2 separate regions of the Homo sapiens genome follow, and region 1 is linked to region 2. Evidence: promoter capture Hi-C in 16 types of primary human blood cells and fetal thymus (Javierre and others, 2016). All regions are on one chromosome and are shown on one strand. The core of a region is centred on a gene start or on the middle of the fragment in contact, and the rest is flanking DNA. Distances in the headings are between cores, read along the strand shown.

Evidence for each region. Contacts are between HindIII fragments. The CHiCAGO score rates a contact against its expected background, and 5 or more counts as called.
Region 1: a contact is called between a fragment that was not itself captured here and the fragment with the promoter of ALG8 in region 2, in 3 of 17 cell types (neutrophils, total CD4 T cells and activated CD4 T cells). The highest score is 5.8, in neutrophils.

Annotation. Positions count from the first base shown.
Region 1 is chr11:78,365,037-78,371,292 of GRCh38, reverse strand. All of the region lies in intron 1 of GAB2 (GRB2 associated binding protein 2), which reads left to right. Among named protein-coding and RNA genes, the nearest start is that of GAB2, 50 kb to the left of the region's middle. RefSeq lists enhancers at 165-1,115, 5,265-6,177. The HindIII fragment of the contact is 3,566 bases long and covers 781-4,346 here.
Region 2 is chr11:78,135,082-78,140,891 of GRCh38, reverse strand. It overlaps ALG8 (ALG8 alpha-1,3-glucosyltransferase), which reads left to right and starts at 1,266. Exons shown (of 13, transcript NM_024079.5): 1 at 1,266-1,398. The coding sequence starts at 1,304. It overlaps KCTD21-AS1 (KCTD21 antisense RNA 1), which reads right to left and starts at 1,099. Exons shown (of 3, transcript NR_102281.1): 1 at 820-1,099. RefSeq lists enhancers at 1-533, 694-803, 1,414-1,493, 1,574-1,683. The HindIII fragment of the contact is 5,506 bases long and covers 1-1,535 here.

The sequences.
Region 1 (6,256 bases), core at 1,314-3,813, 230 kb before region 2:
CCTGCCCTTTTCATTAGACTACTGAGTATAGACTAAGTATAGGTTTTTCCTAATGTATGTTTTTTAAATACATGATAGTTAAAGTTCTATTCTGTATACAAGGGTATGCGTTGTGTGAGACTCAGTGTGTCTATCGAGATGCCCTTGGTTCTGTCTGCACCTCAGGCAGTCTGCTTGCTCAGTGGTGAGTCTTCAGATGTTGCTGCTTTTGCCACGTTTTCTAACAGTGCTGGCTGTCTCATCTTCCCTCTGTGAGGGTGGGGCTCTGGTTTGGTCTCTGTTAAGTCCATTGTGGAGAGAACTACAGCAACTCATGTGCCTAAGCCCCATTTGGCCAGACCCTGGCCTCTCCTACCACTTTCAAGTTCAAACGTGGGGTGTGTTCTTCCCCAGTGACTGTCCAGAGTGGCTGGGTAAACACAGCCTGGAAGTAGGGAGTGAGGGCAGTTGACATCACTGACCAGAGCAGTTGGAAGCTGGAGAAGGGAAGGAGCCAGCAGACAAATTGCTTCGTGTCTGCCTGCCTTTCTCCTCCATTTACCCCTTACACACACACACACACACACATACACACACACACGCACACACACATACAATATTAGTAGTTCCATACAACCCATCCTGTAACCTTCTAAATGAGCAGTTGTCTGTGTTTTCATGCTAAGCCGTAGCGGGTTTGTTGATGCATATAGCCTTGGTTTCCTTTCCCTCCTATTCTTTCCTACCAGTCTTTCCCCACTCTCTGCTCTGAGATTGCAACACATGATAAACAGGTAAGCTTTGCTCCAGACTGTTTTCTAGAACCTGGGCACAATAGTAGTCAATAAAAAACATCTTGCCCATCACAGACCCTTGCCCTGTTTGCCCTGTTTTATACCTTGTTATTTTTCACTTAGCATAAATCAGGTAATATTTGAATACTACCATATGATTAATGTGCACCAAAATCCTGTGAGATAAAATAAACCATGAGTGTAGTTCCGTATTTGCATATATAGGTCAATTGTATTTTCTTTTCTTTTTTTTTTTTTTTTTTGAGACGGAGTCTCGCTCTGTCGCCCAGGCTGGAGTGCAGTGGCGGGATCTCAGCTCACTGCAAGCTCCGCCTCCCGGGTTCACGCCATTCTCCTGCCTCAGCCTCCCAAGTAGCTGGGACTACAGGCGCCCGCCACTACGCCCGGCTAATTTTTTGTATTTTTAGTAGAGACGGGGTTTCACCGTTTTAGCCGGGATGGTCTCGATCTCCTGACCTCGTGATCCGCCCGCCTCGGCCTCCCAAAGTGCTGGGATTACAGGCGTGAGCCACCGCGCCCGGCCAGTATTTTCTTTTTTAAAGGAAAGATTATTGCTTTTGTTAAAATGGTACATGTTCGTTATAAATCAAGAAATGCTAAAACAAACAAACAAAAAACCCCACGCCAGATGCCATCATCTGGTGATAACCTTTAGGTGAATAACGTTCTGGGGGCGCTCATGAAGCTCAGCTTTTCTCATTATCTTTATAGTAGTGTCCGAGTATACTACTGTAATTTAACCAACCTGACCAGTTGATAAGCAGTTACAGTATTTTATTTACTTAAAAAATGTGCTGAAATGACCATCCTTATAAATGCCTTTGGATTTTTTAAACTTGTTGGTATGTAAGATATATTTCTCCCCCTGAAAATTTTTATTCAGATACTACCTTGTGACCAACACACCTGTTTTGCAGATGAAAGACTCTGGGCCAAAGCAAAACTAATAGCAAGATAATCTGCCCTTAGGCGACTCTTCTAATGAGAAAGAATGGGAACACAAAACACTGTATAAGGGATGCAAGTTTCACATCCCAGATTTTGGTAACCAAAAGAAACCATAGGCCACACAGCTGATCAGAGGTATATTTGAGCTATTCCATTACATTTTAGATTTTAACTTTGCTACAGTAAGTCATGGCTCAAATACAGTAGAGGCACTGATTGATCATTAAGTTTATATACACTGTAAACTAACCCAGTTAAAAGGCAACAGCACCATATTTTGAAGACAGGGTGACCAAGTTTCTAATGCAATGATTGCCATTGATTAATACAATGAACTGGAGACCAGCAGGGATGATAAATTTTCCTGGCATTGAGAATTACTTATCTGACTTTTTTTTTTTTTTTTTTTGAGACAGGGTCTCTGTCACTCTGTCACCCAGGCTGGAGTGCAGTGGTACAATCATTGCTCACTGCAGCCTTGACCTCCTGGGCTCAAGTGATCCTCCCACCTCAGCCTCCTGAGTAGCTGGGACTACAGGCACATGCCACCATGCCCGTAAATATAAATTTATTTAATAAGTAAATTTATTAATTTTAAACAAATTAAAAAATTTTTTAATTTTTAAAAAATTTGTTTGTAGCGATGGGGTCTCGCTGTGTTTCCCAGGCTGGTCTCAAACTCCTAGCCTCAAGCAATTCTCCCACCTCAGCCTCCCAAAGTGCTGGGGTTATAGGCATGAGCCGCCATGCCTGGACTTATCTGACTTTAAAGATGCTTTTCTGGGGTCTGAAGTTGAAGATTTAAACCTATAGAGTTTATTTTTGCTGTCTTGTCTTTTTTTTTTCAGTTTGTTAACATGCTGTGTAGTTCTGTTACAAACATATGTAGTGAAAGACCAGCTTTTATTAGGGTTAATTGTTCCTTTTCTCATTTGGTATGCACTAGTATTTAGTGAAATTCTTCCTTCGTGTAGTATGCTTTGTTTCTATTTTTATTAAAACATTTGTTTGTATTGTGACTATTTGTGTAGTAATTTATATATTTAATTTGTAGCTTGCTTTTCAGCCATCAGTACTGTATTTCAGTGACTTCTGCACAAACGTGATTTAACTATAGGAAATTTTTTTGTCCAGGATAATTTACATAAAGTCCCTCACTTGAGAATTTCAGGTGACAGAAGTTTACTATATTTCTAAATAGCAAGCCTATTATAGAGTAGATCAGAATTAATCATATTCATGAACAGTATTAATCTGTTGAATAATCAAACCATCAAGGCAGATGCATTGGTTGAGTTGCTGTTCATGGACTTCCTGGTTGAACAAAATGGTCTTGCCATTCTTAGCAAAGAAATACCTCAGCATGTGGCAACTCATGGATGTGGCCAGTAAGTGCTGTGAGAAGTGAACAAAGAATAGAAAATTAAGCACTGACAGCCGGGCGCAGTGGCTCACGCCTGTAATCCCAGCACTTTGGGAGGCCGAGGCGGGCGGATCACGAGGTCAGGAGATTGAGACCATCTTGGCTAACACGGTGAAACCCCGTCTCTACTAAAAATACAAAAAATTAGCCGGGCGCAGTGGCGGGTGCCGGTAGTCCCAGCTACTCGGGAGGCTGAGGCAGGAGAATGGCGTGAATCCGGGAGGCGGAGCTTGCAGTGAGCAGAGATAGCGCCACTGCCTGGGGGGAAGAGCAAGACTCCGTCTCAAAAAAAAAAAAAAAAAAAAAGAAAAAGAAAATTAAGCACTGACATATTCTGAGATGTTTTCTGAAGGAGCTCAGGCTAAATGCTCTCACCTCCTTAATACTGGCTGAGAGGCTGGATCTTCTGCCTGCAGCCCAGTAGCACTTGGTTTATAACACTATATGAAGTGACTGCATCTCTAAGCCAAAAATCATGATACATGTTCTAAGACAGATTATAGACTGGTATCTTTAGCCTGAATTCCATCTATAAAGTGTTTTGCTTGGCCTGCAGTGTTTTAAACACTTTTAATTAGTCGTAGATTGTTAAAAGCTGAGATCTCTTACATAAAATCCGTAAAATGTCCAGCTTCCAGATCTGGGAACACTGGGCCCAAATTTCTGCCTAGCAGCAATTAGCTGGAACTGGGTGGTAGCTTTCCATTTAAGCCAAAGCATATGCTTTCTAGTCTGCTGTATCACATGCACGCACGCACACATACATGCACACACCAGTCACTCATATATGTACCTACCTGACCCTTTACACTTCCAGACCATATGCCCTTCGAAGGCAGGATTTTTGTCTGTTTTGTTCATTGCTTTTTTCTCATGACCAGAATGTTGTCTGGCACAAAGTAGGTTAAAGGATATTGCTAGATGGAGGAAGAATGTATTTGTGACTCTTGGTCCAAGTTGATGGGGGAAAAGAAAACAGAAGTTTTCAATTTGGAGCTCCTCCAGATATTTGAGCTATGTTCCCCTTTACCCCTGAGATACTGTATGGCTCAGGAATATACCTTAGTATCATAATTTTGTATATGACTTATCTCCCTTGCTAGATGGTAAATTCATTGGGTTCAGGGACCTGTCTTGTATTTTTTTGCATCCTTAAGAATACCTTGCACATAATGGAAGCTTAAATACTCCTTGGATGGTTAGTGGGTTTTTAAAATTTCTCATGTAACTTTGTGAATAAAGATGGGGAGATTCTAATGAATATGTTGTTCTGGAGGATCATTTGAGAAGCAACCATTTGAGTTGCTTCTCCACTATATTTTCTCCAAGCCCTATCCCCAATTACATTCTATTCGCCATCATAGTCTGGATGGGGAATAGAATGTAATTGGGGATAGGGCTTGGAGAAAATATAGTGAATATAGAAGGTTTTTGATAATCCTTAACCCCTGCTCTTTGGTAGCAGGGTAAATTAACCCCCCATCCTCACTTTGTGCATATTCTATTTTAGTACTCATCTTTTTTTTTTTTTTTTTTTTTTTTGAGATGGAGTCTTGCTCTGTCGCCCAGCCTGGAATACAGTGGTGTGATCTCAGTTTACTGCAACCTCCACCTCCTGGGTTCAAGCAATTCTCCTGCCTCAGCCTCCCAAGTAGCTGGGACTACAGACATGCACCACTGTACCTGGCTAATTTTTGTATTTTTAGTAGAGACGGAAATCTAATTTCGCCATGTTGGCCAGGCTGGCCTTGAACTCCTGACCTCAGGTGATCCACCTGCCTCGGCCTCCCAAAGTGCTGGGATTACAGGCGTGAGCCACTGTGCCCAGCCTATTTTAGTACTCATCATATTATGTTAAAGAGCTTGTCTCCTACACTGGACTGTGATTTCCCTATCATTAAGAACTCGGTATGGTTTTTGTGCATCTAACAGCTAATACTTGATAATGTTTGTGTGCCAACTCTGTATAAACACTATTCTAGGAACTCAGTAAATGTTTGCATTGAATTGAGTTTGTGTTAGGAGTTGTATTAGAACTCTACACCACCTTATAGTTTATAAAACATATGTATATTCATTGTCTTATTTAATTTTGAAATCAACTGAGTGCTGCAAATGAGAAAAATCAAAGCCCAGAGAAAACTGTAACTGGTCCATAATTACACAGCAGTTAATGGCTGAACATCCAGGCTGAACTTTGCCAGTTAGTGGCTGAATATTCACGAAATTCTGATGCCTCCATAGAGCGGGATAGAATTATGGAGGACTTGTCATTCTGGACTGCGGAATTTGGACCTGTGTATTGAAACAAGAAGAGAAAGGGAAGTGTTTCTTAAGTTATTTTTGGATGAAGGCTTTTTGCGATCCAAGGCTTCATCCCCTCAAGCTCAACAATAGCATTCCTTGGGGGAGTGAGAAGATGATGAATGGTCATCAGTTTGCTTGCCTCACCCAGATTCCATTCCTACCTCCCAGAATTTTCCCTGGTCCCACCCAGCTCCACAGTAACAATCAATCCCAATCAGTGACTGTACTTCATTTTTTGGATCAAGGAATACCCCTCCCTTTTCTGTCTTCCTCCTTAGGGCTTTGGATAGGAGCCCTTTAATTGATGTTGACTAAACTGGAGGCCAGCCCCTGCATACCAGGAATGCCAGTGGCTTTGTTAGTTGAGGAGGGCGCTGCATTAGCACTGCCCTCTAAATCCCAGAGCAGGTGGAGGAAATCTAATTAGCATTTAGTAAGCCAAGGTGCCCTGGGGAGTTTCTGATAAAGAAAAGGTCACTGCAGAAGGAGAAGGGACACTGATAGGGAGACTTCATTTTCCTAGTGGGAACTTTCTGAAATGGACTGGCAATCAGGTGAGCTGGATTCTAATGCCTGCCTTACTGGTGGCTTTTTAATCACACTTAAGTCCCTCTGCTTATCTGAGATTTCATTTTCTTGTCTGTGTCTAGTCCGTTACCAGACTCCTTTTCCTACACAAATATTTGTTTCATAACAGTGGAAGGGACCTCAGATCATTAAGTTGCTATCACCTTGGGGTGACAGGTACACTAAAATCTCAGAAGTCACCACTAAAGATCTTATT
Region 2 (5,810 bases), core at 17-2,516:
GGGAGGGCATAAACTCATATTAGGGAGGTGACACTGTCACCTACTTGCTGTGCATCTTTCAGCAAGATAATTAACTGATCTGACACATTATTGAGCATTTATTCTGTCCTGGAATCATATCAAGCAATTTACATGCATTCTCATTTAATCCTCACAACCAGTTTATGAGGCTGAAACTTTTTTTTTTTTAGACCAAAAGCATCTTGGATAAACAGGCCTGAGGCTTGCCCAGGCTGAAGTGCAATGGCGCGATCTCAGCTCACTGCAACCTCCGCCTCCCACGTTCACGCGATTCTCTAGCTTCAGCCTCCCGAGTAGGTGGAATTACAAGCGCCCGCCACCATGCACGGCTAATTTTTTTTTAATTTTTAGTAGAGACAGGGTTTCACCATATTGGCCAGGCTGATCTCAAACTCCTGAACTCAGGTGATTCGCCCACCTCGGCCTCCCAGTGTTGGGATTACAGGCGTGAGCCACCGCGTCCGGCCAGAAACCATTTTTATCTCCTATTTTCAAAAATAAATAAATAAATAAAAATTTTAAAAAAAGAAACTGAGGTTTAGAGTTTAGTTTGTCCAAGATCATACAGTAAAATAATGAGACAAGCCTAATTAAATTGCATGTGCCTCAGTCATTACGCAATCTGCGAGTTTGTTGGGCCTACTGAATCAGAATCCGAATTATTTTAACATGAACCGTAGGCTATTTGTACACTAAGCGTTAGGACTAGCCTCTACCCTGCTTCCAGAATGGGTTCCGCTCAAGCAGGAGGTGAGCCAAGAGCCTCGCTCAGAGTTCTAAAAACACAATGTTTCTCACCTCTGTATCTTTGCACATGCCATTCTCTAGCTGGATTTAATACTCCGGTGCAAGCGTCCAGGTTGGGAGCCCCCGCAGTTCTCTGAGGTACTTTTATCTACTGTAACTCTAGGGCAACAATCCTGGCTTCTCCACTAGTGCGTGAACGTCTCTAGCGTTAAGTTTTTTTCTCACCTAAGTATCCCCAATACTACACAGTGATGACCCAGCGCAAACGACCACTCTTTCAACGCAAGCATGAACTAGCTGATAAAACTTAAAAGTGGCTACAAACGCCTGCGCAGGAGCCCTTCCGGCCCGGGGTGAGACGCGGGTCTAAAGAAAAGGTGGGCGGGAGGTTTAAATAGCTGACTGCAGTCCCCGGACTGGCTGCGCCGCTCGCCGCATGCGCGCAGCTAGCGGGCACGGCTTCAGAGGGCTTTCTCCGCATGCGCGGGATCCCGGATGTGGATCAAGTTGGTGGGAAGCGTGCGGTGCCGCAGCAATGGCGGCGCTCACAATTGCCACGGGTACTGGCAATTGGTTTTCGGCTTTGGCGCTCGGGGTGACTCTTCTCAAATGCCTTCTCATCCCCACATAGTAAGGGACTCGCACGGCCAGGGGCTGGGCGGGGAGGCCCCGCGGTCGGTCAGGGCGGGAGAGAAAGGTGTGGATATCCCTGGGTATGAAGAGAAAACTTTAGGTCGTGTTTGTCGCTATCCTGCCTTTGCTAAGCTTTCTGTTTCGCCAGTTGTTACTTGACTTAGCCCCAGCTGGCTAGGTTCAGACCTGGCGCTGTCTGATTTGGAACAAATCACTTTAACGTTTCTGAACCTCAGGGTCCTCATCCTTAATAGGCAGTTAAGAACCTCTGCCTCCAACAGCCATTCAGCCAGTATTATCAGATGCCTGAGGTGCCAGGTACCGTTCTAACTCCCGGGAGATGCGGTGGTGAGCAAGACATTGCTGGTCCTTGCCCTCGAAGTTGGTGGGTGGAGCTAGACAAACAGGAACTTTTCAGATTGTGATAAAGGAAATAGAGGGTTACTAAGTGGCTGTGCGCTATTCCTTTAGAAGGTGATGTTTGAGTTGAAATTCAAAAAATGAAAAAGAATAAGTGATGTGGAAAGCAGTTCAGGCATAGGAAAGAGTAAGTTCAAAGGCCCTGTGGCAGGAAAGAAGTCAGAGCATTCTAGGAACAGAAAGTGCCCCTTGTGGCTGCAGAGCATTGAGGGAGAGGAGTGGCACAGCATGGGGTGCACTGGGGACAGATAACACAGGGTTTCGAAGACCACAGTTAGACTGCTGTGTAAAAAATGGATGTAGGGCCAAGACTGAAAGCGTGGAAACCAAGAAGCAACCATGAAATGGTGGTGTGTATACAGTAGGTACTCAGTATTTATTAATATTGGCTTCCGCCTTCCCTTCATCCTTCCTCTTTTTTCTTTTTCTCCCTCATCCCTTTTCTCCTTTCCCTCCCACTTCCTAGTTTAGGGTTTGTTTTATTGGTATCCTTTGATTCAGGCTCTTGGTGATCTCTTGTTGAATATGGGAGAGTCATATGTATAGAATGTAAGTCCATACTGATGCGTATATGTAATCATGTAAGTGGAATGTATATGTAGATTCAGTAAAATGATTAACTGTAGGTCTGTGCATAAGATTATTTCTTGCTTTAGTTGCCTCAGGCTAGAAATGTATCCTCAGAGTTGTTTTTTTTGTTTGTTATTTTTTTTTTTTTTGAGACAGTCTCGTCCCACTCTGTCACCCAGGCTGGAGTACAGTGGCACGATCTCAGCTTACTGCAACCTCTGCCTCCCGGGTTCAAACGATTCTCCTGCCTCAGCCTCCGGAGTAGCTGGGATTACAGGCTTGCACCACCGCGCCAGGCTAATTTTTGTATTTTTAGTAGAGATGGGGTTTCACCATGATGGCGGAGGGCTGATCTCAAATCTCCTGACCTCAAGTGATCCACCTGCCTCGGCCTCCCATAATGTTGGGATTACAGGCATGAGCCACCGTGCCTGGCCAGAGTTGTTATTTTGAATACTGCTCTTGGTCCAGGTTAAGAATGTATATAGCGCTCACTTTGGCAGCACATGTACAGGAATACCTCATTTTTTGTACTTTGCTTTATTGCACTTCACAGATACTGCATTTTCATTTTTTTTACAAATTGAAGGCTGCGGTAACTCTCCATTGAGCAACTCTATCAATGCCATTTTTCTAACATCATGTGCTCATTTTGTGTCTGTGTTACATTTTGGTAAATCTTGAAATATTTCACACTTTTTCATTGCTATTATATTTGTTATGATCTGTAATCAGTGATCTTTGATACTACTATTCTGATTGCTTTGGGGCAACACTATGGTGAACTTAATAAATGCTGTGTGTTCTGACTGCTCTATCAACCAGCTGTTCCATCATCTCTCTCCCTCTCCTCAGGCCTTGCTGTTGACTGAGATACAATAATAAAGTTAGGCCAATTAATAGCCCTACAGTGGCATCTAAGTGTTCAAGTGAGAGGAAGAGTCACATATCTCTGACTTTAAATCAAAAGCTAGAAATGATTGAGCTTGATGAGGAAGGCATCCTGAAAGCCAAGACGGGCTGAAAGCTAGGCCCATTGTGCCAAACAGCCAAGTTGTGAGTGCAGAGGAAAAGTTCTTGAAGGAAACTAAAAGTGCTACTCCAGTGAATACACAAGTGATAAGAAAGTGAAACAACCTTGATGATATGGAGAATGTTTTAGTGGTCTGGATAGATCAAACCAGCCATAACATTCCCTTAAGCCAAAACCTTATCCAGAGCAAGGCCCTAAGTCTTCAATTCTTTGAAGCCTAAGAGAGGTGAGGAAGTTGCAGAAGAAAATTTGGAAGCTAGCAGAGGTTCTTTTAAGAAAAGAAGCCATCGGCCGGACGCGGTGGCTCATGCCTGTGATCCCAGCACTTCGGTAGGCCAAGACGGGCGGATCACCTGAGGACCAACATGGAGAAATCTCGTCTCTACTAAAAATACAAAATTAGCTGGGCGTGGTGGAGCATGCCTGTGATCCCAGGTACTTGGGAGGCTGAGGCAGGAGAATCACTTGAACCCGGGAGGTGGAGGTTGCAGTGAGCTGAGATCGCGCTATTGCACTCCAGCCTGGGCAACAAGAGTGAAACTCTGTCTCAAAAAAAAAAAAAGGAAGAAAAGAAGCCATCTCCATAATAAAGTACAAGGTGAAGCAGCAAGTGCTGATGTAGAAGCTGCAGTAAGTTTTCTAGAAGATCTAGCTAAGCTCACTGATGAAGGTGGCTACACTAAACAATAGGTTTTCAAGGTAGAAGAAACAGACTTACATTGGAAGATGCCATCTATGACATCTAGTTGAGCCATTTCTCACTTACTATTCTAAAAATCCAATGGCCCTTAAGACTTATGCTAAATCTACTCTGCCTGTGATCTATAAATGGAACAACAAAGCCCTGGATGACAGCACATCTATTTACAGCATGGTTTACTGAATAAGCCCACTGTTGAGACCTACTGCTCAGAAACATTTTTTTTTTCTAGAGGCAGGGTCTCGCTCTATCTCCCAGGGTGAAGTACAGCGGCACCATCATGGCTCACTGCAGCCTTAATCTCCTGCGCTTGAGCAGCCTTCCTCCCTCAGCCTCCCGAATAGCTGGGACAAAGACAGATGCCACCATGCCCAGCTAATTTTTTTTCCTTTCTCTCTCTATTATCTGTCTGTCTATCTATCTATATGTGTGTGTTTTGTTTTGGTTTGTTTTTTTTTTTTCTTTTTGGTAGAGACGAGGTGTCACTGTGTTGCCCAGGCTGATCTCGAACTCCTGGGCTCAAGTGAGCCCTTCCAAAGTGCTGGGATTACAGGCCTGAGCCACCTCACTGGTCAATATTTTTCCTTTTTCTTTTCTTTTTTGAGACAGTGTTTCACTTTGTCAGGCTGGAGTGCACTGGTATGATCTCAGCTCACTGCTGCCTCTACTTCCTGGGCTCAAACAATCCTCCCATCTCAGCTCCCCAAGTAGCTTGAACTACAGGTGCACACCACTACACCCAGCTAACTTTTTGTATTTTTTGCAGAGATGGGGTTTCACCATGTTGCCCAGGCTCGTCTCAAATTCCTGACCTCAAGCGATCCACCTGTCTTGGCCTCCCAAAGTGCTAGGATTACAGACATGAGCCACTGCACCCACCCATTATTTTTCTTTTTTTTTTTTCTTATTTATTTATGTTTGAGACGGAGTTTCACTCTGTCTCCCATGCTGGAGTGTAGTGGCACAATCTCAGCTCACTGCAACCTCAGCTTCCCGGGTTCGAGTGATTCTCCTGCTTCAGCCACCCAAGTAGCTGGGATTACAGGTGCACACCATCATGCCCTGCTAATTTTTATATTTTTAGTAGAGATGGGGTTTTGCCACATTGGCCAGGCTGGTCTTGAACTCCTGGCCTCAAGTGATCTGCTCTCTTTGGCCTCCCAAAGTGTTGGGATTACAGGCGTGAGCACCATGCCCGGCTTTTTTTTTAAATGTATTTTTGGAGAGATGGGGTCACTGTGTTGCTCAGGCCGGCCTGGAATTCCTAGGCTCAAGCAATCCTCCTACCTTTGCCTCCCAAAGTTCTGGGATTACAGACATGAGCCCCTGTGCCCAACCTTAATGTTGTTTTCATGCCTGCTGATGTAACATCTATTCTGCAGCCAGTTGAGTAGTTGATTTTTTTTTTTTTTTGAAACAGGGTCTCACTCTGCCTCTCAGGCTGTAGTGCAGTAGCATGATCTCATCTCACTGCAACCTCCACCTTTCAGGCTCAAGCAATCCTCCTACCTCAACCTGCCAAGTAGCTGGGACTTAAGGTGTGTGCTACCATACCCTGCTAATTTTTTGTATTTTTAGTAGAGATGGGTTTTTGCTGTGTTGCCCAGGCTGTTTTTGAACTCCTGTGCTCAAGCAATCTGCCTGCCTTGGCCTCCCAAAGTGCTAGGATTATAGGCGTGAGCCACC